2 separate regions of the Homo sapiens genome follow, and region 2 is linked to region 1. The links are contacts of gene promoters, found by promoter capture Hi-C in human tissues and cell types (Jung and others, 2019). All regions are on one chromosome and are shown on one strand. The core of a region is centred on a gene start or on the middle of the fragment in contact, and the rest is flanking DNA. Distances in the headings are between cores, read along the strand shown.

The links. Contacts are between HindIII fragments. The study calls those that stand out against the background at their distance.
Region 2: the fragment with the promoter of EXOC3L1 here is called in contact with a fragment that was not itself captured in region 1 in 10 of the 25 tissues and cell types used here (adrenal gland, bladder, dorsolateral prefrontal cortex and 7 more).

What each region holds. Positions count from the first base shown.
Region 1 is chr16:67,099,956-67,105,042 of GRCh38, reverse strand. CBFB (core-binding factor subunit beta) reads right to left here. Exons shown (of 6, transcript NM_022845.3): 6 at 3,985-5,087. Among named protein-coding and RNA genes, the nearest start is that of PHAF1, 7.4 kb to the left of the region's middle. The HindIII fragment of the contact is 4,683 bases long and covers 131-4,813 here.
Region 2 is chr16:67,186,581-67,191,556 of GRCh38, reverse strand. It overlaps EXOC3L1 (exocyst complex component 3 like 1), which reads left to right and starts at 1,421. Exons shown (of 14, transcript NM_178516.4): 1 at 1,421-1,586; 2 at 1,874-1,926; 3 at 2,377-2,537; 4 at 2,617-2,836; 5 at 3,720-4,332; 6 at 4,419-4,536; 7 at 4,673-4,798; 8 at 4,900-4,976. The coding sequence starts at 1,881. The HindIII fragment of the contact is 11,498 bases long and covers 1-2,468 here.

The DNA of each region.
Region 1 (5,087 bases), core at 1,223-3,722:
GGCTGGCAGTCCTCCAGTTCTGCTTTGTTAGCCTAGGTCAACCCCTGATGAGTATTTAGCATATAAGACATAAATCTTTAAGCCAATAAATTTTTTTGGTGTTTTAAAGCAACACACCAGCCCAGGCGTGGTGGCTCACGCCTGTAATCCCTACACTTTGGGAGGCCGATGCGGGTGGATCACCTGAGGTTAGGAGTTCAAGACCAGCCTGGTCAACATGATGAAACCCCATCTCTACTAAAAATACAAAAAATTAGCGGGCACCTGTCATCCCAGCTACTCGGGAGGCTGAGACACGACAGTTGCTTGAACCCAGGAGGCGGACGTTGCAGTGAGGAGAGATTGAACCACTGCACTCCAGTCTGGGCAACAGAATGAGACTCCATCTCAAAAAACAAACAAACAAAACAAAGCAACATAACCAGCCTATCCTGACTGATAAGAGAAATTGGGAAAACTGTCAATTATGCCTCCTGTACTGTTTATAGCTTTGAAATGTCTCCATGCCAACAAAGCTACCCTTAATCTTCCTGTGTTACTATATCGTATGATCAGTGGGACCAAGTTTCTGACTCCAGTCTTATTCTCCCCAAACAAAATTGAGTTTTCTCAAGCACCGATTCCATCAAGGTCATAAGCCCTCAATGGCTTCCTGTTCACCCTTGGGAATGGTCCAAATGTTTTATTTAACACGGTTGGAAAGGCCAGTCCAGCACTGCTTGTGACTCTTACCCTGCCCTCTGCTGGGTGGAATCTGCCCTTCTGGATTCATCTCACTGCTGCAGCCCCCTCTTTTCTGTTCCAGTCATACTCAGCTGCTCTTAGCTTCTCAAACTTGCCAAGCTATTGGCTAGCTACCTGCAATACCTTCTCTAGCTAGCTTAAGGTCTGCCATCCTTCAGATCTTAGCTCAAACATCTCTTTTTTTATTTTTGAGACGGAGTTTCACTCTTTCGCCCAGGCTGGAGTGCAGTGGTGCAATCTCGGCTCGCTGCAAGCTCCGCCTGCTGGGTGCATGCCATTCTCTTGCCTCAGCCTCCCAAGTAGCTGGGACTACAGGCGCCCGCCACCACGCCCAGCTAATTTTTTGTATTTTTTAGTAGAGACGGGGTTTCACCATGTTAGCCAGGATGGTCTTGATCTCCTGACCTTGTGATCCACCCGCCTCGGCCTCCCAAAGTGCTGGGATTACAGGCGTGAGCCACCGCACCCACCCTCAAAACATCTCTTTAGGGAAGCTTTTATTCACCACCCAGACTAGAATAGATGTACTATAAGAGCCAGTACTTCTAATGTAACTTAAACAGTGTTACTGCCTTTGGTCAGCTTTTTAGCTAGACTGTAGATTCCTTGTGAGCAGGGAACATGTTTATTTTGGACACTGGATATTTCCCCCCCTAAATGATAACCATACTTTTAGTCTCCAAAAAAAAAATAGAACTTCAACATTTTCCATTTTTATTTTTATAGGTAATATCTTGCTCTGGTGGCCCAGGATGGAGTGCGGTGGCAAGATCATAGCTCACTGCAACCTCAAAATCCTCGGCTCATGCGATCTTCCCACTCCAGCCTCCCAAGTAGCTGGGACTTAGAGGTGTGCACCACCATGCCTGGCTAATTAAGAAAAATATTTTTGTGCAGATGAAGGTCTTGCTATCTTGCCCAGGCTGGTCTTGAGCTCCTGGCCTCAAGCAATCCTCCTGCCTCAGCCCCCCAAAGTGCTGGGATTACAGATATGAGCTACTGTGCCTGGCCTTTTATTTTTATCTACAACATCTCCTCAACATTTCTGAAATCTGAATGAGGCCAATAACGACCTTAATTCTAAGTTGCTTAAATTTTCTAACCAAAAGCTGGGAGTTGACTAAAACAGTGACTTATCTGTTTCAGAATATTCCATATTTAAACAAACTAAACTGCCATTTCCATCCATGATTTCACCCTGTGACTGTCATTTTTTAGCTTTGGAACATTTCTGAAATGCCATATATGAATATATGATGGTGATGCAAGAAAAGGGGTTGATGCTATCTAGGGGGAATCATGTATTCAAATCTGCAAGACTGAAATCTTACCTTTAAAGAATGTTTAGATTAAAACACCAAAGGTATCTTTTTTTTTTGAGATGGAGTCTCGCCCTGTTGCCCAGGCTGGAGTGCAGTGGTGCGATCTTGGCTCACTGCAAGCTCCACCTCCTGGGTTCGCACCATTCTCCTGCCTCAGCCTCCCGAGTAGCTGGGACTACAGGCGCCCGCCACCACACCCGTCTAATTTTTTGTATTTTTAGTAGAGACGGGGTTTCACCGTTAACCAGGATGGTCTCGATCTCCTGACCTCATGATCTGCCTGCCTCGGCCTCCCAAAGTGCTGGGATTACAGGTGTGAGCCACCGCGCCCGGCAAAACACCAAAGGTATCTTATACTCAGTTACGTATATTTGGTAATATCACCATGGTGGTTTAGAAAGATGTCCACAAATGCTTTGACATCCCCGCCTTCAACAGATGAAGCTTAATATTCCTCCCCCTTTGAGTGTGGACCAGACCCAGTGACTTGATTCTAACATACAATATGGCAGCCCAAGATTCAGTTCTAAGACTGTGCTTTTGGCTGGGCATGGTGGCTCACACCTGTAATCTCAGCACTTTGGGATGCCGAGGCGGACGAATCACTTGAGGTCAGGAATTTGAGACCAGCCTGGCCAACATGGTGAAACCCCGTCTCTATGAAAAATACAAAAATTAGCCGGGCATGTTGATGGGCACCTGTAATCCCAGCTACGTGGGAGGCTGAGGCAGGAGAATCGCTTGAACCCGGGAGGGGGAGGTTGCAGTGAGCTGAGATTGCAGCACTGCAGTCCAGTCAGTCTAGGCAACAGAGCGAGACTCCATCTCAAAAAAAAAAAAAAAAAAAAAAAAAAAAAGACTGTGCTTTCAACTTGGGTGTGCGCTCTCTTGGATCACTTGCCTTGGGGGAAGCCAGCTACCCTGCTGTGCACTGTCCTATGGAAAGACCCAGCTGGGCATGAAATGGAAGCAGGTCTCTGTCCAACATCTAGCAAGGAACATCTGCCTTTCATCTAGCAAGCTGCAAAGAACCGAGGCCAGTCAGTGACCACATTAGTGGGTTTGAAAGGGGATCTTTCATCCAGTCAATCCTTGAGATGACTGTAGCCCAGGATGACTCTAACCTTATGAGGAACTCTGAACCAGAACCATTGATCTTAGCTACTTCCAGATTTGTGACTCACCTGTGGGATAATACGTATTTATTGTTTTAAGCTGCTAAGTTTTGGGGTAATGTGTTATGGATAATACAATGGTTTATAGATTGAAAAGCTCCTCATTGCCAAATGAGGCATAAATCAAGTAAGATATTTTTCACCAAGCAGCCCCGAGCTAGCATATCCAATTATGTTTCTAGAAGTGATATACTTACTAAAACCATGCTGTTACTGCTCAATTTTTTGAAATTAACTCTCAGAGCATGAATCCTACTCTTTGGAATTTCCCTTAATGGTGTCAATTCAGAATTTAAAGGCATTTTTGTCATTTGCAGTAAGTCTTGTGGTTAATGAGTGAATCTGTTTATCATGTGTCAAGCTTAAGGCATACTTTCAAGGAAAAGGGCTTACTTTTCTGTTGTAGGAAAATGCCAGGAGTCTTAAGAATGTTTGATATAACACCAGCACAATCAAAACGGCTGTATATTTCCAAAACAACTAGCTTGAAAGATGGAACTAATTTGGATGTGTAATTTAAAATTCTTTCTCCCAACATCACTACTTTATGGTCATATCTCACAGGATGGGTAAATCAAGCCAGATTTCTTGAAAACCATAATATACACTGGGGGATTTGTATACCTTGTGATACCTATATTTAAAGTAGTCTTCTTTGGAATCAACAGAAATTACCACTAGATGCCACTGTTGTTGCTTTCTTAGAAATTACTGGGTTAGGTCAAGAAAGAGCCAAGACCCTGTTTTTACTACACAGAAGTTTATTGTGAAAGTAAATTAAACAAACAAACACACAGTATGGCCAATGGTGGCAAAAGCAATCTGGTAGCTTAAGGCAAGTTTTAATGGAGATGAATTTAGAAAAGATGATGCAATGATGTAATTTTGTTTAAATATAGATTATGAAAAAATATCAAATTGCATCAATAACTTAATAGAAGTAGTTTTCAAAGCCTGTACTACTGGAGAAAAAGGGCTCATGATCTTAATGCCAGCATTAAGACAGACAGAAGCAGCATGGTGCTAAATGACAGAAAAATCCAGTATTTACATTAGGATGGTAACAGGAACATTTAAGAGCATTTGATCTTATTTACTGGTGGACCGAAAGCCCTTAGCTAGACAATAGAGGAAAATGTACCATCATCATGTTATTTAAAAAAATTTAAGTGCAGAAGTAAAAAACCAAGGAGCTCTGTAATAAAGTAACATAAAACACCACTGTAAGGATCACTTAAAAAGCGATTCCCTCAGGGGAAATTAGGGCACTGAGTGTGTAAACATGTGAGCTGTACAACACCAAAACCAACCAAATTCATTCATAGTACTTATAGTTATGCAAGATCAGCATGGCCTTTAATGACGCATTATTGTTTGTAACAATTTAAACACACTCCTTTCCATGCATAACTTCAAATATATAACAAATACTTTTATTTGATACAGGATATCTGTTTATGAAATAAGACCTATATACAATGAAAGTAACACCTCCCTCATCAGTCAAGTACAGTTATATGCTTTTTAAATGCAATGACCTTATTCAGACTTCAGTCCATTTTCTGAATTGACTGTGTCAGTTTTTCACCCTTTAAAATAATGCCATTTAATGATAAAATACATTTTTCAAAAATTCAGAAATGTAGTAACATTTAATAAATGTGACCATGAAAAATATTTGTAAGGAGGTGCCAAATGACTTAGCACTGTTTTCCACTCTGTATCTAAAAAAAAAGTTGCAATTTGACAGTAAGCCTATTTAAAAAATATTCTTACATTAATTCATCTCAAAAGGTTCTATTAATAGTCCTTTTGCAAAATACCATATATATAACTGTGAACGTTT
Region 2 (4,976 bases), core at 172-2,671, 88 kb before region 1:
GAACACTTCAGCCAATGCAAACGTGTTTACCTATGTGTAAATATCAGTAAAGCACTCAGTCATTCCTGGCATGCAGGAATGTGTGATACGGTCATTTTGTAACTTTTAACATTGTTACTATTTATTATTGTTTCTTTTAGATCAGGTCCTCTGGGAAATGGGACTCGAGATAGGGTTTTGCAGCAAGTTTGTTGGGGATCCACACTTTTTTTTTTTGAGACAGGGTCTCACTCTGTTGCCCAGGCCGGAGTGCAGTGGCAAGATCAATGCCGTCTCAGCTTCCTGGGCCCAAGCGATTCTCCCACCTCAGCCTCCCAAGTAGCTGGGACCACAGGCATGCACCACCATGCCCGGCTCATTTATTTTTAGTTTTTTAGAGATGTGGGTCTCACTATATTGCCCAGGCTAGTCTTGAACTCGTGGGCTCAAGAGATCCTCCCACCTCAGCCTCCCAGAATGCTGGGATGACCGGTGTGAGCCACCGCACCTGGTCAGGATCCACACCTTTAAGGGATTAAGACAAGCAGAATTGAGCAGATGCAATTATATTATAGGCCTCAGCCTATCCCACTAGGATCTCTGAAATTGGGGTAGCACTTCTGAAGGGTTCATGTTCACACGATGGTACCATGCTTTTGCACCCCAATATTGACTGAGAGACTCAGTGGTGTGATCTCAGTAGCCTACACTCCTGGCAGCTGGAGAATGAGCACTTCTGTCCTGAAGGGTGGATTTGGGTGGTGGACTGAACATCCACTAAATAATTACCACCTTATAGTCCCTTCCCTGGCTCCCTATAACTCTCAAGATAAACACAGCTGCCCAGTTGCGGTGACTCACGCCTGTAATCTCCCAACACTTTGGGAGGCTGAGGCAGGCAGATCGCTTGAGCCCAGAAGGCTGCAGTGAGCTATGGTGGTGCCACTGTACTCCAGCCTTGGTGACAGATCAAGACCCTGTCTAAAACAAAAAAGATAAACACAGCTTTCATGACCCTCTCCTACCACCCCCCACCACACCCCTCTTCACAAGAGCCTGCCACCTCTCACTCCTCCGCAGAGGTACACATCCTCCTCAGAGGCTGGCCAACACAGTTTTCATCCTGTGCTGTTGATGTCGTCTGCATCCATATCTGCACACTCTGCCCACCACCCCAGGTTGAGGCCAAGTCTAGCAAATCCCTATCTCCTCTCCTGAGCACTAAGAGGTTCTGGGTAGGCTGGTCAAGACTGGTTGAGTACAAGTACACCCCACCCCCCCGCCCCTCAGGGAAGTGTCGCCCAGCTGTCCCCACCCTCTGTGCAGACACTCTTTCCTGTTGGGAATAAAATGCCAGAGACTCAGCTTCCTTCCTTTCTGTTGATGGCCTTGGGGAGGGAGGAGCCTCGGTGGGAAGAAGGGGCTTCTGGGTGGGGAGTGGGAGAGAGACTTCCTTGGGGAGAGGAATTCAGCTGCACGCTGGAGTCAGCTGGAGTTGCCCAGGCCCTGTGAGCAAGTGGCAGGCGTGCCCAGCTGCATTGGGGAGAGGGCTGTTCTCAAGGCCAAGGTCATTTTTGGAGGGAGAACTGGACGCCTGATCAAATCTGGTAAGTTCTGTACCAAACTGTCCTGTGCAGCTCAGAGCAGGACCAGGGTCCAGTGGAGGCCTGTGCCCACTCTGTCTCGCTTGACATCTGCAGGGGCACGACTGGGAAACCTAGCAGGCAAAGCCTCCCAGGTGCCCTCCGCATCACACCCGCTCCCTCTCACTTCCCGAGGGGGCCGGGAAGAACCTCCTTCCTCCTCTCAGAAGGGCTTAGACAGAGGCAGCAGCTCACAGGGGCATCTACTCTGCCTGCTTGCCCCGGGCCCACCTCAGCTCTGGCTCCTCCAGGCCCACAATGGACTCAGCAGCCAAGGATGAGATGCAGCCGGCGTTGTCCCCTGGTATGAACCTTTTGGGTGGACTAGGGGAGGAATGATGGCAACAAAGATGGGACTGGCTGGGCGCAGTGGCTCACGCCTGTAATCCCAACACTTTGGGAGGTCAAGATGGGCAGATGACCTGAGGTCAGGAGCTCCAAACCAACCTGGCCAACATAGTGAAACCCCGTCTCTACTAAAAATACAAAAACTAGCTGGGCGTGATGGCACGCGCCTGTAATCCCAGCTCCTCGGGAGACTGAGGCAGGAGAATCGCTTGAACCCGGGAGGCGGAGGTTACAGGGACCCGAGATTGCACCACTGCACTCCAGCCTGGGCAACAGAGCGAGACTCCATCTCAATAAACAAATAAACAAACAAATAAATAAATAAATAAATAAATAAGAAAGCTGGGACTGGGGTCGTTGGGCCCTCCTCCCTGACTACACGGCTGCCCAGGCTCTTCCTTCCCAGGACCTGAGTGGCCAGAGCAGGAGCGGGCAGAGCAGCTGGCCCGGGGTGCAGCGCTCAAGTGGGCCTCAGGCATCTTCTACCGGCCGGAGCAGCTGGCCAGGCTAGGCCAGTACCGCAGCCGCGAGGTGCAGCGTACCTGCTCCCTGGAATCGCGCCTCAAGGTGGGCATGGGGCAGGGGGTGCGGGTGCTGGGACTGTGCTGCAGGGCTGGCCCAGCCTCATGGCTCCATCTTTCCACAGTCAGTGATGCAGTCATACCTGGAAGGCGTGCAGACTGGTGTGTGGCAGCTGGCCCAGGCCATTGAGGTGGTGCAGGGAACCCGGGAGGCCCTGAGCCAGGCCCGTGGGTTGCTCCAGGGCATGTCCCAGGCCTTACAGACTCTAGAGCCCCTACGGGAGCGGGTTGCCCAGCACAAGCAACTGCAGGCCCTGTCTCACCTGCTGCCTCGGCTGCGGGCAGGTGAGCATGCAGGGACCCTGGGCCTCAGCCTCCAATAGTCAGTCCACAAACACCCATCCCTAATCAAGGGGCTGGGGCACTAGATGGGGAACTGCATAGAGCAGCACACCAGGGACCTCCCAGACAGTAGCCCGGGCTTCCCATGGCCTATGAGGCAGCTCATCCTGGGATTCCCACGTGTGGGATGCTTGAGTCAGGACAGACACCCAGTCATGTGACTCTGGCCACCTGGTTATCAGTATATTCAAACTCTTCCCTAACAGAGTGGCTGAGCGAGTACTGGCAGGACCCCCCGATTTCCCCTGCCTTCCCTCCAGGATCCTCAGCTTCCTCATATTCCATGAGTTCATGGGTTGACCTCTGGCCCACCAGGTCTTTAGGACATTGCCAAGATCCTCTTAGATTGGCCAGTACTCTACTGGTTATTTATTTATTTATTTATGGTTTTTTGTTCATTTTTTGTTTTGTTTTGTTTTTGAAACAGAGTCTCACTCTGTCACCCAGGCTGGAGTGCAGTGGTGTGATCTCGGCTCACTGCAACCTCCATATCCCAGGTTCAAGCAATCCTCCTGCCTCAGCCTCCCCAGTAGCTGGGATTACAGGCATGTGCCACCATGCCTGGCTAATTTTTGTATTTTTAGTAGAGATGGGATTTCACCATGTTGGCCGGGCTGGTCTCAAACTCCTGACCTCAAGTGATTCACCCACGTTGGCCTCCCGAAGTGCTGGGATTACAGGCATGAGCCACTGTGCCCAGCTTACTCTACTGGTTGTTAAATATTTTATGCATCACCCCCGCCCTGGGCCTCAGTATCCCCTGCTGTACACATTGAGGCGGTGGGAAGGCTGAGACCCAGGGCCGTCTCCTTTTCACTCTCATTAGTGCCGGCTGCAGTGTCCCACACACAGACTCTGATTGATGGCCAACAGTTCTTGGAGGCATATGTGAGCCTTCGGGAGCTGGAGCAGCTGCGAGAGGATACGTGGGCACCCCTGGGGGGCCTGGAGTTGCCAGTCTTCCAGGGGCTGGACCTTCTGTTCGAGGCACTGGGCCAGGCTGTGGAAGCAGCTGCAGGGGCCGCAGGGAAGCTGGCACGGGAGGACCCAGCCCTGTTGGTGGCTGCTGTGCGTGTGGCGGAGGTGGAGACTGGACGAACAACCCCCCTGGGCCAGGTCCCCCGGGACTGGCGTCAGCGCTGTCTGAGGGCACTACAGGAGGGCCTGGAGCAGGCCCACTTTGGGTCACCTCTGCTGCCTGCACCAGGGGCCCTACCAGGGTGGCTGGAGGCTCTGCGAGTGGCCCTGCCAGTCGAGTTGGCCACAGCTGAGGCACTAGTAGCGCCTTGCTGCCCGCCACAGTACAACGTGGTCCAGCTATGGGCCCACACGCTGCATAGTGGTTTGCGCCGCAGCCTGCAGAACCTCCTTGCAGGGCCTGAGCTAGAAGCTGCGGATGCCTTCGCCTTGCTGCACTGGGCACTGCATGTGTACCTGGGGTCAGTGCCTTTGGGGCAGCGGGACATGGGGGATCAGAGGCTGGGGGCTTGGTGGCTTGGTGTGACACCAGGCCACCTATCTCCAGGCAGGAAATGATGGGGAGCCTGGAGTTGGGGCCTGAGGCTGATGTGTCCCAGCTGGAGCCCCTTCTGACCTTGGAGAACATTGAGCAGCTGGAGGCAACATTTGTGGCCAACATCCAGGTGAGTAGTTGAGGCACAGGTCCAGAGAAGTCCTACTTATCTGCTGTGGGCCTTTATCTGCAGAGTGGAATGTCTACCCATCTCCAGCAGGGTCAGATCCCTGCTACATTCCTTTGCCCCTGGCCCCTCCCCCCAGGCAAGTGTGTCTCAGTGGCTGCAGAATGCACTGGATGGGGAGGTAGCTGAGTGGGGCCGGGAGCATGGGCCCAACACAGACCCGTCTGGCTCCTATTACTCACCAATGCCAGCCATTGTGCTGCAGGTAGGTGGGAAGTGGCCAGACAGGCAGGCAGCCTCCATGGGGCAGTGGGGAGGAGAGGAAGGAGGGAGGCTTTGCCGATGGCTGCTCATTTCTGCCTGCAGATCCTGGAAGAGAACATTCGTGTGGCCAGCCTGGTCAGTGAGTCACTGCAACAGCGAGTGCATGGCATGGCACTGTC